Regions from separate parts of the Homo sapiens genome. Here regions 1, 2, 3, 5, 6 and 7 are each linked to region 4. The links are contacts of gene promoters, found by promoter capture Hi-C in blood cells and fetal thymus (Javierre and others, 2016). All regions are on one chromosome and are shown on one strand. The core of a region is centred on a gene start or on the middle of the fragment in contact, and the rest is flanking DNA. Distances in the headings are between cores, read along the strand shown.

The links. Contacts are between HindIII fragments. The CHiCAGO score rates a contact against its expected background, and 5 or more counts as called.
Region 1: a contact is called between a fragment that was not itself captured here and the fragment with the promoter of ZFYVE26 in region 4, in 1 of 17 cell types (neutrophils). The highest score is 5.8, in neutrophils.
Region 2: a fragment that was not itself captured here is called in contact with the fragment with the promoter of ZFYVE26 in region 4 in 4 of 17 cell types (naive CD8 T cells, naive CD4 T cells, neutrophils and 1 more); the score reaches 6.8 in naive CD8 T cells.
Region 3: a fragment that was not itself captured here is called in contact with the fragment with the promoter of ZFYVE26 in region 4 in 2 of 17 cell types (non-activated CD4 T cells and naive B cells); the score reaches 7.5 in non-activated CD4 T cells.
Region 5: a contact is called between a fragment that was not itself captured here and the fragment with the promoter of ZFYVE26 in region 4, in 1 of 17 cell types (total B cells). The highest score is 5.7, in total B cells.
Region 6: a fragment that was not itself captured here is called in contact with the fragment with the promoter of ZFYVE26 in region 4 in 1 of 17 cell types (neutrophils); the score reaches 5.7 in neutrophils.
Region 7: a fragment that was not itself captured here is called in contact with the fragment with the promoter of ZFYVE26 in region 4 in 5 of 17 cell types (neutrophils, M2 macrophages, total B cells and 2 more); the score reaches 8.8 in neutrophils.

What each region holds. Positions count from the first base shown.
Region 1 is chr14:68,877,330-68,880,029 of GRCh38, reverse strand. It overlaps ACTN1 (actinin alpha 1), which reads left to right. Exons shown (of 22, transcript NM_001130004.2): 18 at 1-68; 19 at 961-1,041; 20 at 1,507-1,572. Among named protein-coding and RNA genes, the nearest start is that of ZFP36L1, 86 kb to the right of the region's middle. The HindIII fragment of the contact is 2,213 bases long and covers 263-2,475 here.
Region 2 is chr14:68,859,186-68,861,885 of GRCh38, reverse strand. It overlaps the pseudogene MAGOH3P. Among named protein-coding and RNA genes, the nearest start is that of ZFP36L1, 67 kb to the right of the region's middle. The HindIII fragment of the contact is 2,634 bases long and covers 28-2,661 here.
Region 3 is chr14:69,116,527-69,119,226 of GRCh38, reverse strand. DCAF5 (DDB1 and CUL4 associated factor 5) reads left to right here. Exons shown (of 9, transcript NM_003861.3): 3 at 1-33; 4 at 949-1,088. Among named protein-coding and RNA genes, the nearest start is that of DCAF5, 35 kb to the left of the region's middle. The HindIII fragment of the contact is 1,289 bases long and covers 608-1,896 here.
Region 4 is chr14:67,815,222-67,817,921 of GRCh38, reverse strand. It overlaps ZFYVE26 (zinc finger FYVE-type containing 26), which reads left to right and starts at 1,332. Exons shown (of 42, transcript NM_015346.4): 1 at 1,332-1,388; 2 at 1,876-2,152. The coding sequence starts at 1,959. RefSeq lists enhancers at 801-900, 951-1,120. The HindIII fragment of the contact is 23,571 bases long and covers 1-2,700 here.
Region 5 is chr14:69,098,851-69,101,550 of GRCh38, reverse strand. All of the region lies in intron 5 of DCAF5 (DDB1 and CUL4 associated factor 5), which reads left to right. Among named protein-coding and RNA genes, the nearest start is that of DCAF5, 53 kb to the left of the region's middle. The HindIII fragment of the contact is 329 bases long and covers 1,239-1,567 here.
Region 6 is chr14:68,965,742-68,968,441 of GRCh38, reverse strand. All of the region lies in intron 1 of ACTN1 (actinin alpha 1), which reads left to right. It overlaps LOC124903336 (a long non-coding RNA gene), which reads left to right and starts at 263. Exons shown (of 2, transcript XR_007064228.1): 1 at 263-311; 2 at 379-2,700. RefSeq lists an enhancer at 1-671. The HindIII fragment of the contact is 730 bases long and covers 1,056-1,785 here.
Region 7 is chr14:68,829,171-68,831,870 of GRCh38, reverse strand. No RefSeq gene overlaps it. Among named protein-coding and RNA genes, the nearest start is that of ZFP36L1, 37 kb to the right of the region's middle. The HindIII fragment of the contact is 2,168 bases long and covers 330-2,497 here.

The sequences.
Region 1 (2,700 bases), core at 120-2,619, 1.1 Mb before region 4:
GGGATGCCAAGGGCATCAGCCAGGAGCAGATGAATGAGTTCCGGGCCTCCTTCAACCACTTTGACCGGGTGAGAGCCCCATCCTGTGCTTTCTTAGTGCAGCCCCCAACCCCTGCCCCAGGGCCCTGGAGGGCACTTCCCCGGGACGTGGGCTGCCATGCAAGTGAGGAGGGAGAGAAAGGGGAAACTGCCGTCAGCCTGCCCTGACTCAATGCACCCTGCAAAACCAGCCTTGGAAAACCTGTGTTGGTGCCCCATAAGCTTCCCTGCTTTCCGGGAGAGAGTGTTCAGACTGTGGGTAGAAAGAGGACCTTTGACCCCTGATCCTTGCTCTCCTACCATGAGGAGTCACCCTCAGTGAAGGCTTGCTGCTCCCTGGCTGTGGAGACAGAGGAGCAGAAGAGACTCCTCCTGCCCTCGCTGGCCCCTACCCCTACCCCGACCTCCAGTGGCCTCTGGGACTCTGCTGGGGATGTCAGAGGCCTTGGTCCTGGGTTCCCATCCCAGCTCTGGGTCAGGCTGGGTTTTAGTGGGCTGCCCCTTCCCAGTGCCCTGGGGCTTGCGGGCGGTCCCAAGGCGTGGGAGCATGGGCTTGGGTGCTGCCCACCACCCCACCTGCTTCATGGCTCTCTAGGCACCTGGGGGGAAGCCCCTGGGGAAGCGGGGGGGCTGGGTCACTTCTGAGGGAGCTTCTCACCCTTGTGGCTCATCACACCCCACTGTGGTCCTGCTCCCTGGAGCAGGGCTGCGTGTGCTGGGGGGAGGGCACCCCCTGGAGCCTCGTTGGTGTGTCTAACCGTGTGCACTTTTATTTCCCCTCCTCCCCCGCCCCCCCACCCTCCCTCCGCATGCCTGTCCCTGTGTCTCCCCACACACGCCACCCTCCCCCGGGGCATGCCCCCCTCACGGCTCCACCTCCCTGACACCGCATGGCTCGCTGCCTGGCGCACCGCGGCCCCAGGATCACTCCGGCACACTGGGTCCCGAGGAGTTCAAAGCCTGCCTCATCAGCTTGGGTTATGATATTGGCAACGACCCCCAGGTACTCGCCTCCTGCATGGAGCACGCTCAGGGGTGGCGTCTGGGGCAAGAAATAATGCGTTTTTCCTTTTTCTCTTCTCTCTGTCTGGATCTCCTGTCCCCCTCCTGTGGGCCATGGGGCTCGTCCTCTCCTGCTGTCTCTGTCTGCCCCATCACTGGTCCACCCTCTGCCCTCTGCTGTCTTTCATGGCAACCTACTGGGTGCCCGCTGTCTTCCGTCCTCGCTGCTCTTCATCCCATGGGTGGATTTTTGCATCTCCCTGCTCTGTCTTCCTCCTGTCTTTGGACATTTCCACCGATGTGTGTTCGCATCTTCTCCTATGTTCCTTTACCTATCCTGACCCCCAAAACCATAAATCTCATCCCCGTTCTGGCCATCTGTTCCTGTCTTCCTGGCCCCGGGCCGGCCCTTCCTCTTCCTGCCTTCCCGACCCTCCTTGTGTCTTGGTACCACTGCCCCCCACAGAAGAAGACAGGCATGATGGACACGGATGATTTCCGCGCCTGCCTGATCTCCATGGGTTACAACATGGTAACGTAAACCCCACCCTCTGTCTGCCCTGGTGAGAAGGCAGCCAGCTGGCGGGAGCAGCCAAGTCCCAGGAGTGGCAGGCTGGAGGCCCTCAGGCTAGGGGCTGCCCTCCCTGGAGGAGCCCCAGGGCCCATGTCCTTGGGGAAGATGGCTCCCTGAAAGCCGGCCCGGCCACGGGCGTGTGTGTATCCGGGAGGCCTGACCTCCTCGCCTCAATCTCTGTGCCACTTCATCTTCTGGTACTTCTCACTCCCACTGTGGACAGCTGGGCTGACCCTGAGGCTGGCAGGAAGGACTGGTGGTGTGGGACATCCCAGGTTTCGGGCTGGCATGCGTCACCTCACATGGAGCATGGAAACCGAGACTTCCACCTCTGTCCTGGCGGTGACTCTGGTTGGGCCTGCCGCCCCTCTGGATTGTCCCAGGCCGTCCCCCACCCCCCAACCTTCCTAGTCTGTCCCCCCTTGCACAGACATTCTGAGCAGAGCAGTCAGGTGACTCCTGAGCCATGGTGCCAAGTGCAGAGCCCACAGGCTGTCCAGCGCAGGGCATGGGCATGGGGCTAGGAGCAGTGAACCTGGGAGTAAATCCCAGCCCTGCCGTCATTAGTGTGTTACCTCAGGTGAAGTGGGGGAACCCTACAGGACTGTTACAAGGATTAAATGAAGGAATTTAAGTGTGTGCATGTATCTGGCATGTAGAAAATACAGTGTGGTGGGGAGAGAACAGATTCTAGAACCAGACTGCCTGAGTTCAAATCCCAGTTCTGCTGCTTCCTGGCTGTGTGACCCTGGGCAAATCACTTAGCCTGTCTGGGCTTCAGATTTCTCATCTGTACAATGAAGATAATAAAATACCTATCTTTATGGTTGTAGTAAGGATTAAATGAATTGAAATAAAGCTTTTAGATTAATACTTGATATGCTACATAGGTGTCAGCCATTGTTAATCATTGTTGTCATTATAGTTATTATCAACATGATTATTTGCTCTAAGAGGAACTCAGGCATCTGCAGGGTGTGGGGAACCCTGAGCTGGGTCTCCCCTGTTGGGTGTTGTGTCCCCATCATACCCTTAGGACAACCCAGGTTAGGTCAGGGGGATGTGCCCTTCTCTTCCAGCCATAGG
Region 2 (2,700 bases), core at 95-2,594, 1.0 Mb before region 4:
AATTGCTACTGTTGGCATATCTAAGCTTTCCATCCAGCTGAAATTCGGACTCCAAAAACTCATGCCCAAACTTGCCCTTGTGCCCTACGTAGTAGCGCAGGTAGAAATCGCTAGCCATAACCATTTTTGTCCCTGGGAAGCCCGCTGAAAACCCAGACAACTGAGAGACCCTTTCTTAAAAAACAAACAAAAACAGGAGGCCACGGCCTGAGATCTCCAGTGAGTGACAGAGCTAGGACTTGAAACTATGTTTCCCTCATCCCCAGGAGCGATATTTTATCCACTTCACCAGTGGTTCTCAAACTTTGCGATGCCCAAGAATTGTTTAGGGAGATTGGTAAAGAGGCAGCATGTAGGACTGTGTCCCCAGAGATTCTGATTATTTCTAAGAGAAGTAAAGACAACTGGGAATTTGTCCCTAGGACATTCTGGGTGGGGTCTGGTAATGGAAACAAGTTCATGGACCACCTTTGAGAAGTGCTAGATTAAAACCTCATCATTACCAAGAGGGAGATTTTGTATGGATAGAAGAGAGAACTTTCTAATAGTCATATCTATATTCTGATCCAACTATTGCTGCGTGCCAGCATTTGGATTGGTGCTTTCATATACACAATTTCATCTCCTCTTGGTGGCTCTTTGAGTAGGTGCCTGCAGTTTGCAGATGAGGATACCAGGCTCTGATACCTTCAAGAGAGTATTAATCTCTCCCTCCTTTCTTCTAACTTGGGGCCCTGCACCTGCTTCATTTGGCATTCCATTATGTGCTTATGGTGAGTCTCCCTATGGAAATTGTGCACCTTGATGTTGTTGAAGGCCTTTGAGTGTTGTCTGGCGAAGGTCACAGATTGTATCTGTTGAGCTGAAATGCCCCATCTGCTGTGAACAGGCTTGAGCGATGAGGAACTGAGGGACCTATGGAGCAGCTGCCCCATGTGTCACTAAGGTGACATCAATCCTGGTATCTGGAGCCGCTAATCCCTGGGGGAAGGTCCTGTGGAGGAGAGAAAGTGCTATAACTGGACATTTGGGAGCCGAGTCCTGGTCACCTTGGGGCTGCTTCTCAGGGGAACCTGCCAAGTGCTGTCAAATCAGAACATGTCCTCCGCAGGGAAAAGATCCCATGAAGGCAAGCCCAGGGTTGTCAGAGGGTCCCAGGAACCAGAGTAGCATGAAAGCTCTGAGGAAGGCTGGGAGCAGGGTGAGGCTAGCTATCTCACAGTTTGGGCCCTGTCACTCCCAGTTCCTCCCCAGAATCGGTAGGGCGTCTCTCACTTCCACCCCTGAAGGTGCTCCTCTCCTTACATTCTGCCCCTCACACTTTCCCTTTTTTTTTTCTTTCTGAGACAGAGTCTTGCTCTGTTACCCAGGCTGGAGTGGAGTGGTGCGATCTTGGCTCACTGCAACCTCTGCCTCCTGGGTTCAAGCGATTCTCCTGCCTCAGCCTCCTGAGTAGCTGGGACTACAGGCATGTGCCACCACGCCTGGCTAATTGTGTTTTGTATTTTTAGTAGAGACGGGATTTCACCATGTTGGCCAGGCCGGTTTTGAACTCTTGACCTTGTGACCCGCCCCCCGGTTCAGCCTCCCAAAGTGCTGGGATTACAGGTGTGAGCCACTGTGCCTGGCCACACTTTCCTCTTTATACCATGTTGTATTAGCTGATTTTTTTTTTTTTGCATGAATCAAGTGTCACTTTTATAATCATATATAAAAAAGTTTCATTTGGAGAAAACTACAAATGGAATGATCTCCAGGAAAGCAGGGTGTAGGGGAGAAAAACTAAGATCTTTCCTTCACCCACCAAGAGGTTCATGGCTGACACCCCTGTAACAAAAGACAGATTAACAAGAGGAAAGTTTAACAAATTTATTTAACCAAAGTTTTATGTCACATGGGAGCCTTCAGAAATAAAGACCCAAAGACCCAGGGAAAACGGTATTTTTATGCTTAGGTTTGATGAACAATGGACAGTTTTGGCCAGGTGCGGTGGCTCACGCCTGTAATCCCAGCACTTTGGGAGGCCGAGGTGGGAGGATCACCTGAGGTCAGGAGTTCGAGACCAGCCTGGCCAACATGGAGAAACCCCATCTCTACTAAAAATACAAAATTAGCCAGGCGTGGTGGCACATGCCTGTAATCCCAGCTACTCAGGAGGCTGAGGCAGGAGAATCGCTTGAACCTGGGTGGCGGAGGTTGCGATGATCAGAGATCACGTCATTGCACTCCAGCCTGGGCAACAAGAGCAAAACTCTGTCTCAAAAAAGACAAAAACAAACAAACAAACAAAAAAACAAAACAAAGAAAAAACCTCAGATGCCAAGGCGCCATGCTTTGGAGTATTGCAGGGGAAAAATAATAGCCCCCATGGGTTTGTAGTTAGAAAAGCGCCCCTGTTATGAAAGACAGACTAAGAAGAGAAAAACAAACAGAAGTTTATTAACATGTATATTTTATGTATACATGGAAGACACTCAGAGAATGAATAGTTCTCAAAGAGGTAGCTTTGAATTCTAGCTTGTGTAGCATCTTCAACACAGAGCAAAGAACAGTCCATTTTTAGAGCAGTGACAAGACAAAGGAAAAGGGCGTTGAGTCTCTGGCGGCAGCGGCTTGTGGGGAAGGCAAATAAATGGCAGACAAAGACTAGTTAGTAAAGCTTATTAATGTAGATTCCTCTGGTACCATCTCCAGGCTGAT
Region 3 (2,700 bases), core at 3-2,502, 1.3 Mb before region 4:
TGATGAGCAAGTTATCCTCCATGATGTTGAAAGGTAAATAGATTGGTGGTGTGTGAAGGTGATTGACTTTGTTTTTCATATATGAAGAGGCAAATATCTCTTTAGACTAAAATAGTTTTTGTTTTTTGAAAAAAACAACATGAAACCAGCTGTTCTTTTCTAAAAAAATTCCTACAATAGTTTGAAATAAATAAAGTTTTGATTTAAAAAGGAAAAAGGGATTTGAAAGTTTTGAAAGTTGGTATGAGAGTGTACTTTTTAGGTGAAAATTTAAAACAAGAGTTTAGAAGAGAAGGAACCATAATATTTAAGAACAGTAATAGCTAATATTGATTGAGTTCTTACTATGTGCCAGACACCATTGTAAATGCTTTGTACATATTCATTCATTTAATCCTCACACTCATTTTCTGAGGAGATACTATTGTCATCTCCGTTCTAGATCAGGAAACGGAGTCACAGACATGTTAGATAACAGAAGGTCAGGTGGTACTAAAACCTGAACTTAGGCTATCTGGCCTCAGAGCCATGCTCTTCATCACCATGCCAGATTGCTAGGAGACCCCTCTCCCATCCTGTAGGCATCAGACTTGGCTGCTTTAAAGCTTTCCCTTGCTTTTTGAAAATCAAGTATGACCCCCAAATCTGTACACAAGCAGATGCATTCTGTAATAAATGAAAATACAAAACTCAGCTATTGAGTCACTTTTAAATATGCTTATTTAGCACAAAAATTATAAAATCTCTAAAAAGACTCCTTAATAGTACCTTTTTTTTAACCTGAAAGTTGACTACCTACCTTTCAGGAAATATAATATTTTTTGGGTTTAGCTAGGTTGACTTTCTTCTAGAAATGGAAAAGATGGCACCCTCGGTACCAAAGTGCTGGGACTCTGCACTATGCTTGTGTGTATGTGTGTGCCTCTGTCTTGCTCTCTTATCTCCCAGCAGTGAGACATTGGACGTGTTTGCTCATGAAGATGCAGTATATGGCTTGTCTGTGAGCCCAGTGAATGACAACATTTTTGCCAGTTCCTCAGATGATGGCCGGGTTCTCATTTGGGACATTCGGGAATCCCCCCATGGAGGTAGGCTCACTGTGCAAATGACTGTTGGACTGTGTTGAACAGTTTGATGTCAGATTCATTGAAGATCCAATTTATTACCTCAGTATCTATGTGCAAGTGATGTCAAGGGAAAGGAAATGTGAAACACTCACATGGGGGCATAAGAGGTCTTTGGAGGCCTTATCCTCCACCTAAATACTCAGGAGTGAGGCACCTTTGCCAGTCCTTCTCCACCCTCCTGTGACTCTCCACAAACCCTTGTACTTTGGTGTTTAGTGCCCCAAGGAGCAGAAGTTGTGGTGCTGACATGTAACTATTCTTGATTATTTACAGAGAATGGGGGCGTTATGCACTTTCCTGCATCCTAGTTTCAGGCTTGTTATTTTGTTGAAAGAACCACCGAATCTCAAATTACCTGTGTATAGGATCTTAAAATGATGGCAAATAAACTCTGTTTAAAGGGGATTGTCGTGTGAGTGCCTCCTCTGAATGTGCCCTTTGACTCTCTGATGTGTGAAATGAAGAAGTTGCTTTGTTGACTTTCTCTGAAGTTCTTCAGGAAATGCATCTTCTCAGCTCATTTCCTACAGAGAGATTTCTGTAATTCTACCTGTCTTCAAAAGGCCCCTTCCTCTAGTACCAGCCTTAGTGCCACTGCCATACCCACCGTGGCCTTTAGTGCAGATTGTAATGATCACAGCTGTGTACCTAAATTTACTATCCTGCCTGCTCTGTCTGGCAGGATCTGGGTCTTTTAACTTTTCTATGTTCTAAACATTTTACATTCTGGGCTGTGCTCATTATTTAGGTTCAGGCTATAAGAGAAGCTTGTTTTTAGGGTTAGGCAGGTAAGGTAGCACGAAGTAGCAGCTGTGGTCGAGTCACTGTGGGCTTGGTAAGTGAAATTCTCCTTCGTCTGAACTGCCTGATGGCAGAGATGACTGAGTGCTTTACCTGCTCAGAGACCTGTGAAATACTGCATATGGAGGTCATAGACTGAGAAGTGCTTTCTTTGTATTACTCTAACAGGTCCCATAGGAGTATATCCTGCTAGGTAACTAAGTGATTTCTTCCTCACTTGGAACCTGCTAATTTTTGTAAAATGTTGCAGGGTTTCTAGGTGAAGTTGATTACAGACTGGCTAGATGTTAGGGAGCATTGTGAACCAGAAGAGAAAAACCACACCATTGTGTTTCACCACGTCTTAATTTTGTCATTGTTTTTTTTAATCTTCATCAAATCTGTGCATGGTTTAAAAACTTTTCTAAAACTAATACAATTGGATTAAAAGCATAATAACCCTACCATACTTGGTTGTGAATTTTTTCAGCTCATGTGGAATTCAGTTTTACTTACTGTAAAATGGCTTATTTTCCCATTTTTAGTGGCCGTTTCTGTTTTGTGTCAAGATCTGATAGCTGCTATATATATTTCTGGGTGTTATAGCTTAAAATGTGGTTAAATGTGTTTACCTTGCTATGTATAGGACTCATGGGGACCTTGTAAGTAGAGGTGACTGGTGGGATTATGTGCTGTTTTGGGGCTCCAGGCCGTTGGAGTGGTTATTAAAGAGTGCTCCGACCTGTATTCACATTCCTGATTATCTGCCTGCCAGTGGCCCACAGGTACCTGG
Region 4 (2,700 bases), core at 83-2,582:
CTGAAACACACATAGTGAGGAAAGCTGAGAGTCTGTGATTAAAGCACACCAGGGAAACCAAACAAAAGGCTTGGTGTAAGGCAGCTGTGGTGAGCAAACCTAGTAAGCCGTTACTTCAAGAGTTGGTTTCAGGCTGGGAACGGTGGCTCACGCCCGTAATCCCAGAACTTTGGGAGGCCGAGGTGGGCGGATTGCCTGAGGTCAGGAGTTCGAGACCAGCCTGGCCAACATGGTGAACCCCTGTCTCTATTAAAAATACAAAAATTAGCCGGGTGTGGTGGCGCGCGCCTGTAAATCCCAGCTACTCAGTGAGGCTGAGGCAGAAGAATCGCTTATCCCAGCTACACAGTGAGGCTGAGGCAGGAGAATCGCTTAAACCCGGGAGACGGAGGTTGCAGCGAGCCGAGATCGCGCCATTGCACTCCAGCCTGGGAGACAGAGCGAGACTCTGTCTCAAAACAAAAGACTTGGTTTCAGATTATTGTGTTTGCGAAAAAGCCTTTGCTCATTCTTTGCTCTCTGATCTCTTATGCATACTTCTGTCTTATAATTTAGCCCACCGTCTCCTAATTTTTGGCCTGCATCTCCCTTGAGAAGAAGGACCTCCATTTACTCAACTTAGAGAATAGGGCCTAAGCCCGGTGTAGTGGCGCGCGCCTCTAGTCCCAGCTACTACAGGAAGGCTGAGGCTTAAGGATTACTTGATCCAGGAAGTTCGAGGCTGCCATGAGCCGAGATCACACCACCGCACTCCAGCGACAGAGAGACTCTGTCTCTAAAAAAATAAAATAAAGCCTAGCACACCGTTCAATTAACAGTTGTAGGGTAAATGTGCAAATAAATGAATGGAGTGAAGCAGAAGAATATGGAAATTCAGACCGCAGAGTTCCGGAACAAAAGAGCCCAGTAGATAGAATAATAATGGAGGAGAACCCAGTTCTCCTAGCTCCGGGTATCCCCCGCGCCTGGCAAAACACCATCACTGGTTGGCGTTCAATAAATGTTGACTTCACATGTTAAGGAGATAAGAGAGTGGAAGAAAAAAAAAAATCCAGGGTCACAGTTCTTCCTGCCACCTGCTCGGCCGAATGCAGAACTGAAAGTATTGAGCGCCGGAGCTGTCACAATTGAGGGAGATGGTCCGCAGCCAGGTAGCTGATTTCCTCTTTCCGAGCTTTCTAGCTTTCCCTACTCCCGGAGAGGTGGCGTCACGTGACTCAAACAAATATGGCACTTAATTTTCATCTTCCCTGCCTTGAGCCAATAGGAGTGGGGCTTTCAGTCTTTGTCACCACCCCCACCACCGCTGTTCGGAGTGGGTTCTGTCACCTGACTCGGCTCAAACATGGCTGCGCTGAGAGCTCTATTGCTTTGGGCGCCGGGAGCAGGTGAGTGTAAGACACCCCTGAGAGGGAGGGGCCCCTCTCCACGACCCCCGCAGAGAGCGTCCCTGCGGCCCACCCCCACACTGCTTTCCACTTATGACACAGATTCGTCTCCTGGTCGTCAATCCTCTGCCTTAACAGAGGGCTCAAACTAGGGAGGTTCCTGCTGAATTTCTCATTCTTGAGGAGGCGACCACCTGGGGATTTGGAGTCAAGACTGGGCATAACGTTCAGTAGGGAATACGGACGTAGAGTTATGGGTCTGCGCCCGGAGCAAATATGACTATTAATATTATTAAATATAGGAATCCGCGTGAAGAGATGGGATCCACCCCTTGAAGAAAGTGTTTTCAAAAAGTAACGTGGGAAATTAAACTGAAAACGATACTTAGGCAAGCAAGTCCCGCCTTTCCCAGGCGGACCAGTAGTTGCTGCTTTGTCTTAATACAGTGCCTTCTGTTTCTTCTCACTGGCGTTGTGTTGTTTCTAGGAGGTACTCCGCGAATGAGAACATTGAGAATGTGTTCGGCATAACTCATTTCTTTGTATCTCCCTGCACTCTGTGCTGGGAAAATGAATCATCCATTTGGAAAAGAGGAAGCTGCTTCGCAGAAGCAGCTTTTTGGATTTTTCTGCGAATGCCTGCGGAGGGGAGAATGGGAGCTGGCACAGGCATGTGTACCTCAGCTACAGGAGGGACAAGGGGATATCCCAAAGAGGGTAGAAGACATACTTCAGGCATTGGTGGTGTGTCCAAATCTGCTGAGGTAAGGGATCTCTTTTCCTACCAGACGGTCCCAGGGTGAGAGACATGTGGTTCAATATTTGGGCATTGGTCAATGTGCCCCCACTCAACTACCCTCTGAAGAATAAGCAGAGGCACAGTGTATTTCACGTGCTCTGAAATTTTACCTCTATAGTATACATCCATTACTTAGTCAATATTGGCTTTTGATTATCATCTGCAACTGAATGTAAGCCTGGCTGCCAAAGTGTGCCTGAAACTGCCATTTCTTGTTTATCCTCGTTAATATAGATGGTGGAACTGCATTGAAAACTATTTTCTTTGCCTCCAAAAAAGCAAACCCTGCTCTCTTCTTGCTTATGAGATTGAAAATATTGTTGTCGCTTTACTTAAAACTTTTTATTTCGAAATAATTGCAGTCTCACAAGAAGCTGCAAAAATAATGGAGTCCAGCGTATCCTTTTCCCAGTCTGCCCCAATTGCGACGTCTCATACAGCTGTAGTACAATATCAAAACCATGAAATTGACATTGGCACATTACTTTAAATGACACTACAGAGTTTATTTGG
Region 5 (2,700 bases), core at 154-2,653, 1.3 Mb before region 4:
GACTCTCTGTTGCGTCAGCTTAGGTTTTTCTTCCAGGAAGTCTTTTGTGACTACTCCCACTCCTGTCTCCCCAGTAGAGGGCAGTTATTCTTCCTCTGTCCTCTCTTGGCAGATCTTCCCCTTATTACAGCACTGTTCATGGAAACGGTAACATCTTTGAATCCATGTGTGTGACACAGTGCCTAAGATAGTCAGCAGGTATTCAATAAATATTTAAATGAAAGTATGCATGAATAAATGAATTACTGAATTGTAGGGAAGGGTGTGAAGTGAATGACTTAGATGAATCCTTCTGGCCCTGATGCATTGCAGTCTGATGCTGTTCTTTTTAATAGGTGGAATAATCCATCTCCACAGCATATTCTGTGAAATCTTGTTGAACCAAGAAGCAGAAAAAACTTGCTTCTATTTCGGCTGCTTGATTGTGTGGTCAGGGTCAAGTCATATAATTACTCAGGACCTTGGTCTCCTCCAGTGTAACATAGGTTGATGTTAACCACACTGTCTATTTTATAGGATTATTTTAAGGATTAGATGATATGATATACATGAAAACATTTTGGAAATTAAATTTACTGAAGAACTTGTTGCTTCTTCAGGGGTATCTATGTTGATATAATCCCTTCAGTGAATTCTTTGTAGTTTGAACTTTCTATTTTGTAATTCCAGGTTTGACCTTATGTTTTATGTGTTGGGAGTCACATATTTTAGATAGGGACTTCTTAGTATACTCTCAATAATAATCTTGGCTTCTTTTACCCATGAATTTGCCCATATGTAGAAGACTTTCCAAGAACACTGCTAATATTTCTGGATTATGCATAAAATACTTGTGTGTTTTGAATCTGTTTTCTATTCTGATCACTTAACTTTCCCATTTGTTTATGGATACTTTGGAAGTGGGATGGTGGATCTGTAGAAAGAAATAAAACTGAGTGTAGTTTCAGACCTAACTTGGTGACTATGTCCAATGCTAACCAAGGGAAACTTGTTTTGTATCTAGAAATCTACCAAAGGAGGGATATTATTTGCCCTCATTGAGAAGGATGGTAAGGGACACTAAGATTGAATTTCAGAGACCTTTGAAAATTTTTGTTTGACTGTTATTATATGGATTTAAAATAATGACTGGATTTCAAATTTAGCATTTGTACCAGAATCCTATGGGTCAGTTTATTATGTGAAGTTTCCATTAAGAGGCTCTCTAAATTCCCTATTCTCATACTTTTCTCAAAGCTTTCTTCCATGGACCCTTTTTAAAAGAGGGAGTATATGTGAGAAGACATTTCCTTCTGATTATAGAAGTTTATATTCATTGTAGAAAAACTTGGAAAATAAAATGAAAGCTATAAGGAAAATAAAAATGACCCAAGTTCTATAGTCTAGTTAATGTATCTTCCTATTGATATCCATATATCCATCAATATGTATAGTATATCACTATCTATTTTTGAGCATAATTGGGTAGGACATGTATTTAATACCTGCTGAATTCACTGGTCACTTTCTGAAACATGGTAGATGAATCTACTTTCTTTTAACTTGTAATTGGCTTCCTTTTAAAGCTTAAATAATTTTCCTTTTGAACTTCTTTTCTGCAAATATCAGAAACTTTTTTTTTTAATGTTATTTTATTCTTTGAGACAGTGTCTTATTCTGTCACCCAGGCTGCAGTGCAGTGGCTCAGTTGATCCTCCCACCTCAGCCTTCTGAGTAGCTGGGACTACAGGCATGTGCCACTATGCTCGGCTAATTTTTGTATTTTTTTTTTGTAGAGACAGGGTTTCACTTTGTTGCCCAGGCTGGCCTCAAACCCCTAAGCTCAAGCAATTCTCTTGCTTGGGCCTCCCAAAGTGTTGGGATTACAGGCATGAACCACCATGCCCAGCCAGGAACTTGCTTTAAAGTCTAAGATATAATTAAGATACTTGCTTACCTGTTAAATTATCTTGTTGGATCCTTACATGATTAGCACATGGATGAATTTAACTCACTTAAAGGATGTATGGTGGCGTCATGGCTTCATGTGAGATGTAGAGACCTGGATGGTCATTGATAAATCACTGTGGACCACAGATCTCCACCTATGCACCTATGTAGGAGGACTTTGACTCAGATGCTCTCCAAGCTTACTATTGTTTATCTGATTTTATGCTGTTCTGCTGCTTGCCCCTCGAGATCAGGTTTCATGGGTAGACAAATGTTAAGAGCCATGTGAATCTCGATGGAGCCTGTTTTTGCTTTGTTAGTTGTGTGTGTGTGTGTGTGTGTGTGTGTGTGTGTGTGTGTGTGTGTGTGTTGAGACAGAGTCCCACTCTGTTGCCAGGCTGGAGTGCCGTGGTGCAATCTCAGCTCACTGCAACCTCCGCCTCCCAGGTTCAAGCGATTCTTTTGCCTCAGCCTCCCAAGTAGCTGATACTACAGGTGTGGACCACCATGCCCAGCTAATTTTTTAAATTTTTAGTAGAGACTGGGTTTCACCATGTTGGCCAGGATGGTCTCGATCTCTTGACCTCGTGATCTGCCCACCTTGGCCTCCCAAAGTGCTGGGATTACAGGTGTGAGCCACTGCGCCAGGCCTGTTAGTTTTGTTTTAAAAACGTTTTAAGTCAGTGTTTTTCTTTTTTTTCTTTTCTTTTTTTTTTTTTTTTTTTTTTGGAGACAGAGTCTCGCTCAGTCGGCCAGGCTGGAGTGCAGTGG
Region 6 (2,700 bases), core at 171-2,670, 1.2 Mb before region 4:
TCCTTTTGCTCCCACATCTCCTTTGCCCTGGAGCTGTAAAGGTAGACCTGTGGGAGCTCTGCCATCCCTGTTTTGTGGCTGAGACTGCTGAGTTCCAAAGCACTTGCCCAGGTCACACAGCAACTTGTAGGTGGCAGGTGGGACTGAACCCGGCTTCCTGCCTCTGCGGTGGCGTTCGTATGTTACACCTGCCACCCTGCACCCCGCCAGTGTTCAAAGACTTGCTGATGTTTGATGAGGGAGGGCAGGAGACGTCAGTCTCAGTATCTTACTCTCTTTCCACCCACACGTGTGTGTGGCATCTGGTGTCCGTACCTATGGGTCCCTGGTCCCTTGCCTGCTGCCCTCTTTTCCTGGGCTTGAGATTCAGGTTCCTAGGGACCTATGCCACGTTGCCATTTTTTTCACCTCCCAGGGTAGTAGTTGTGCTTTTATTACTTCTTGATAAAGCAAATGTGTCATGACGAAAAGGTGCGTGAATTTGGGAATGCTTCTAAATGAGTTTATATTTTATGGCTCAGCAGCCTCTTGTGCCATTTGGAAGCTGGCTGTGCTCTGCAAGACAAGAGACTGCTCTGGATATGAGGCTTGGGCTGCATGTAGAGTTTTGGAAGAGGCCAGATGTGGGGAGCCACGATGAGCCCCACTCCGCCAGGACCATTCCTAGGCTTCAAGGACAACAAGTGGGGTCCCAGTTGAGTGGCCTTTGTCCCTGTCTGATTTCCCTCCTCTTGCCTTCTTATCTTCTGGCTCTCAGCCACTCGGCCATTGCCTTGCCCAGTTAGTACCTGGGCTAGGAGAGTCAGAAAGGACAGATATGTGGCAGCCTGCCTGCCTTCATTACACTTTCTTGGGGCACTGTTGTGAAACTCCTCTCTAAAGACATTTAGAGGATTCTCAGGGGATGTCACTGATCTGTAACTGATCTGAGGCTCCTTGGATGATCAAAGGTGGATTTGTGGAGTCTCCTGGGGTCCCCCTAGTAATGGACTTTCAGGAGCTCCCTGATGAGCTCATCCCAGCACCCCAAAGAGCAGGTAAGCACGAATCAAGCTTGCACATACTAGGTATTCACCGAGTATCCAGTGTTGATGAACAGTGGTGGTGAGGGCCTTTGGACAGGAGTGTGGCAGCTGTAGTCCTGCAGGAGACAACTGACAGATGCTGAGGGCCTGGGTGGTGGTAGTCTGAGTCACCAAGGACCACCCCAGAGATGAGGTTGATTGCTGGGACCAGGGCAGAGGCCCAGTTGGCTCCTCAGGACTAAGAGGTGTGTCCTGGAATCAGAAGGAGGACAGGGGCCAGGGAAGCTGGCCTTGTCATTGGGATGGGGTCATAGCCTAGGATGACCTCAGCCCCTGCCATGCTGCTCAGCGCCCCTCTCTGAGCTGGTGCGTCCAATGGTAGGCTGGTTGGAACTGGCACAGACCTCCCAGCTCCCTACCAGCCAGCCTAGCTGCGTTTTTTCTTTGGCTAACAGCCCATCAGATTCCAAGGTGCTGGCCATACTGACATGTCCCTCTTCATCCTGCCCCTTCCTCTCTGGAGGGTGGGGTTATTGCATTTGGCTGAGCCCTGCTTCAGAAAATCACAGGGAATTTCTGGTCCTTTTGTGTGGGTTTGTGGACCTTAAAGGAAGTAAAACCTGGGTCTTGGTTTTCCTTCTCCTTCCAGTCCCTCTGCTGAGGGTTCTCTCTGGAGTGTTGGACGTCAGCAGCCCACTGTCTTTAGCCACAGTATCCCGAGGGGTGTGGATCTAGATAACTGTGGGGCCTCAGCAAAGCTTTCACCTGCCTCCTGCTCCCTTTCTGTTGGGACTTTGGGAGTGGCATTTGGGAGTGGGGATAGGTGTGAAAAGACTGTCTTCTTTGATTTATTAGGCCAGAGAGTTGTTTGGCAGAAACCTATCTTGTCCCCCAGGAACAGGAAGAATGGTTGTGTGTTAGGTACCGGGGCCTCAGGAGACCCGAGGTCTTGTCCTAGTGCTGCCTGTGGCCACTTTGTGATGCTGGATAAGTCACACCTGAAACCACCTATAAACCGAGAAATTGGATGGTAGGATGGTGGTGGGGCTCTGTTCTAAAGGCTGTACTTGGATTATCACATGCAGATGATCTCTGGGGTCTGCGGTGATGCCAACATTCTGTGTTTCTGCCCTCTTGGACACTCAGCAGAGTTAAGCACTTCTTTTTTTAAAAACAAAATTAGTTACTTTTTTATTTTTTGAGACAGGGTCTCGCTCTGTCACCCAGGCTGGAGTGCAGTGGCATGATCTCAGCTTACTGCAGCTTCTACCTCCTGGGCTCAATTGAGTCTCCCACCTCAGTTTCCCAAGTAGGTGGGCCCACAGGAGTGTGTCGTCATGCCCAGATAATTTTATTTTTTTTGTAGGGACAGGGTCTTGCTGTGTTACCCAGGCTGGTCTCAAACTCCTGGGCTTAAACGATCTCCTGCCTCGGCCTCCCAAAGTGCTGGGATTACAGGCATGAACCACCATACTCATCCGAGTCAGGCACTTCTAAAGGTGACCTTGCAGTTGACTCCTGGGCTTTGTAGCCTGGCCCTGAAGTTAACTATTCGGCGAACACAGCTTCTTTAGGAGCCCTCTGTGTCTTCAGCTTTGAGGAGTTTGTTCTCACCCTCTAGGGAGGATGCAAGTGGGGCCAGGTGAATGTGCTTCCTTTATAGACAGACCCAGAA
Region 7 (2,700 bases), core at 164-2,663, 1.0 Mb before region 4:
AACAGAGAACTCAGATATAAAATCCATTCATTTATAGCCAACTAATTTTCAATGAAGATGCCATGAATATACACTGGAGAAAGAAGAGTCTTTTCAATAAATGGTGCTGGGGAAACTGGATAACCATATGCAAAATAATAAAACTAGACCCCTATTTCTTACCATATATAAAAATGGATTAATTACTTAAGTCTATGACCTGAAACTATGAAACTACTAGAAGAAAACATTGGGAAACACTCCAGGACAAAGATTTTTTGTGTAAGACTCAAAAGCACGGGCAATAAAAGCAAAAATAGACAAAGAGGATTACAGCTAGCTAAAAAGCTTCTGCACAGCAAAAGAAACAATCAACAAAGTAAAGAGGTAACCCCCAGAATGAGAGAAAATATTTGCAAACTACTCATCCAACAAGGGATTAATAACTGAATATATAAGGAGTTCAAACAACTTAATAGCAAAAAAAAAATCTGATTTAAAAATGGGCAAAACATCTGAACAGACATTTCTCAAAAGAAGACACACAAATGGTGTATGAAAAAATGCTCCACATCACTAATCATCAAAGAAATACAAATCAAGCCTGGGCGAGGTGGCTCACGCCTGTAATCCCAGCACTTTGGGAGGCCAAGGTGAGCGGATCAACGAGGTCAGGAGATCGAGACCATCCTGGCTAACACAGTGAAACCCCGTCTCTACTAAAAACACAAAAAATTAGTTGGGCGTGGTGGCGGGCGCCTGTAGTACCAGCTACTCGGGAGGCTGAGGCAGGAGAATGGCATGAACCCGGGAGGCGGAGGTTGCGGTGAGCCGAGATCGTGCCACTGCACTCCAGCCTGGGTGACAGAGCAAGACTCTGTCTCAAAAAAAAAAAAAAAAAGAAAAGAAAAAGAAAAAGAAAAAGAAAAAAGAAATACAAATCAAAACAACAGTGAGATCATCTCACTCCACTTAAAATGGCTTTTATCAAAAAGGGATGCTGCTGAGGATATGGAGAAAGGGGAACCCTCATAGACTGTTGGTGGGAATGTAAATTAGTACAACCACTATCAATAGCACTTTTTGAGCTATTTTTAGCACAAAAAACTAAAAAGAGAACCACCATTTGATCCAGCAATCCACTACTGGGTATATATCCAAAAGAAAAGAAATCAATATATCAAAGAGATATCTGCACTCCTGTATTTATCACAGCACTATTCACAATAGCCAAAAAATGGAATCAACCTAAGTGTCCATCAATGGATGAATAGATAGAGAAGATGTGGTATATATACCCAATGAAGTATTATTCAACCATAATAAAATAAAATTATGTCATTTGTAGCAACATGGATGCAAGTGGATGTCACCATGTTAAGTGAAATAAGCCAAGTGCAGAAAGACAAATATTGCATGTTCTCACTCATATGTGGGAGCTAAAAACTTGGATCTCTTGAAGACAGAGAGTAAATTTGTGGTTTTCAGAGGCTGGGAAGGAGAGGGGAGTGAGGGGATGAAGAGAGGTTGATTAATGGGTACAAATATACAGTCAGAAAAAGTAAGATCTATTGTTCTATAGATCTGTAGGGTGACAATAGTTTGCAATAACCTATTATGTATTTCAAAATAGCTAGAAGGGAATAACTTGAATGTTTCCAGTATAAAGAAAAGACAGATATTCAAGGGACAGATATCTCAATTATCCTGATTTGATATTTACACATGATATGAATGTATTAAATTATTACATGTACCCTGAAAATATGTACATCTATTATGTATCAATAAAAAATAAACATACCTTAAAATAAAATAAAATGTGTAAAGGAAAAAAATCATTTGACCATATATGTGAGGGTTTGTTTCTGGGCTCTGTCTTCTACTTCATTGGTTTATATGTCTGTCTTTATGCCAGTTCCACATTGTTTTGAATACTGTAGCTTTGTTTTGAAATCAGGAAAAGTGAGTCCTTTAGCTTCGTTCTTTTTCTTTTTCTTTTTTTTTGAGACAGAGTCTCTCTGTCGCCCAGGCTGGAGCACAGGGGCGCGATCTTGGCTCACTGCAAGCTCCGCCTCCCGGGTTCACGCCATTCTTCTGCCTCAGCCTCCCAAGTAGCTGGGACTACAGGCGCCCGCCACCAGGCCCGGCTAATTTTTTGTATTTTTAGTAGAGACGGGGTTTCACCGTGTTAGCCAGGATGGTCTCGATCTCCTGACCTCGTGATCCACCCACCTCGGCCTCCCAAAGTGCTGGGATTACAGGTGTGAGCCACCGTGCCCGGCCAGCTTTGTTCTTCTTTTTCAAGATCATTTTGGCTACTTAGGGAACCATGAAATTCAATATAAATTTTAGGATGAGTTTTTCTTTTCTGCAAAAAAAAAAGTCATTGGGATTTGATAGGGCTTGCATTGAATCTGTAGATTGACTTGCTGTAGTGAGAACTTCCAGTACTATGTGGAATAGAAGTGGTGAAAGCAGGCATCCTTTCCTTGTTCCTGATCATAGAGGGAAAGCTTTCAACTTTTCACCATTGAGTATATTTGCAGTGAGTTTTTTGTATACAGCTTTTTAATGTTGAAGTAATTTCCTTTTATTTTTTAAAAAAACTTTTATTTTTTAAAAATCAACAGATAATAATTGTGCATACTCATGGGTTACCTACTGATTTGATTATACATATAATATGTAGTGATCAGATCAAGGTAACTAGCATATCCC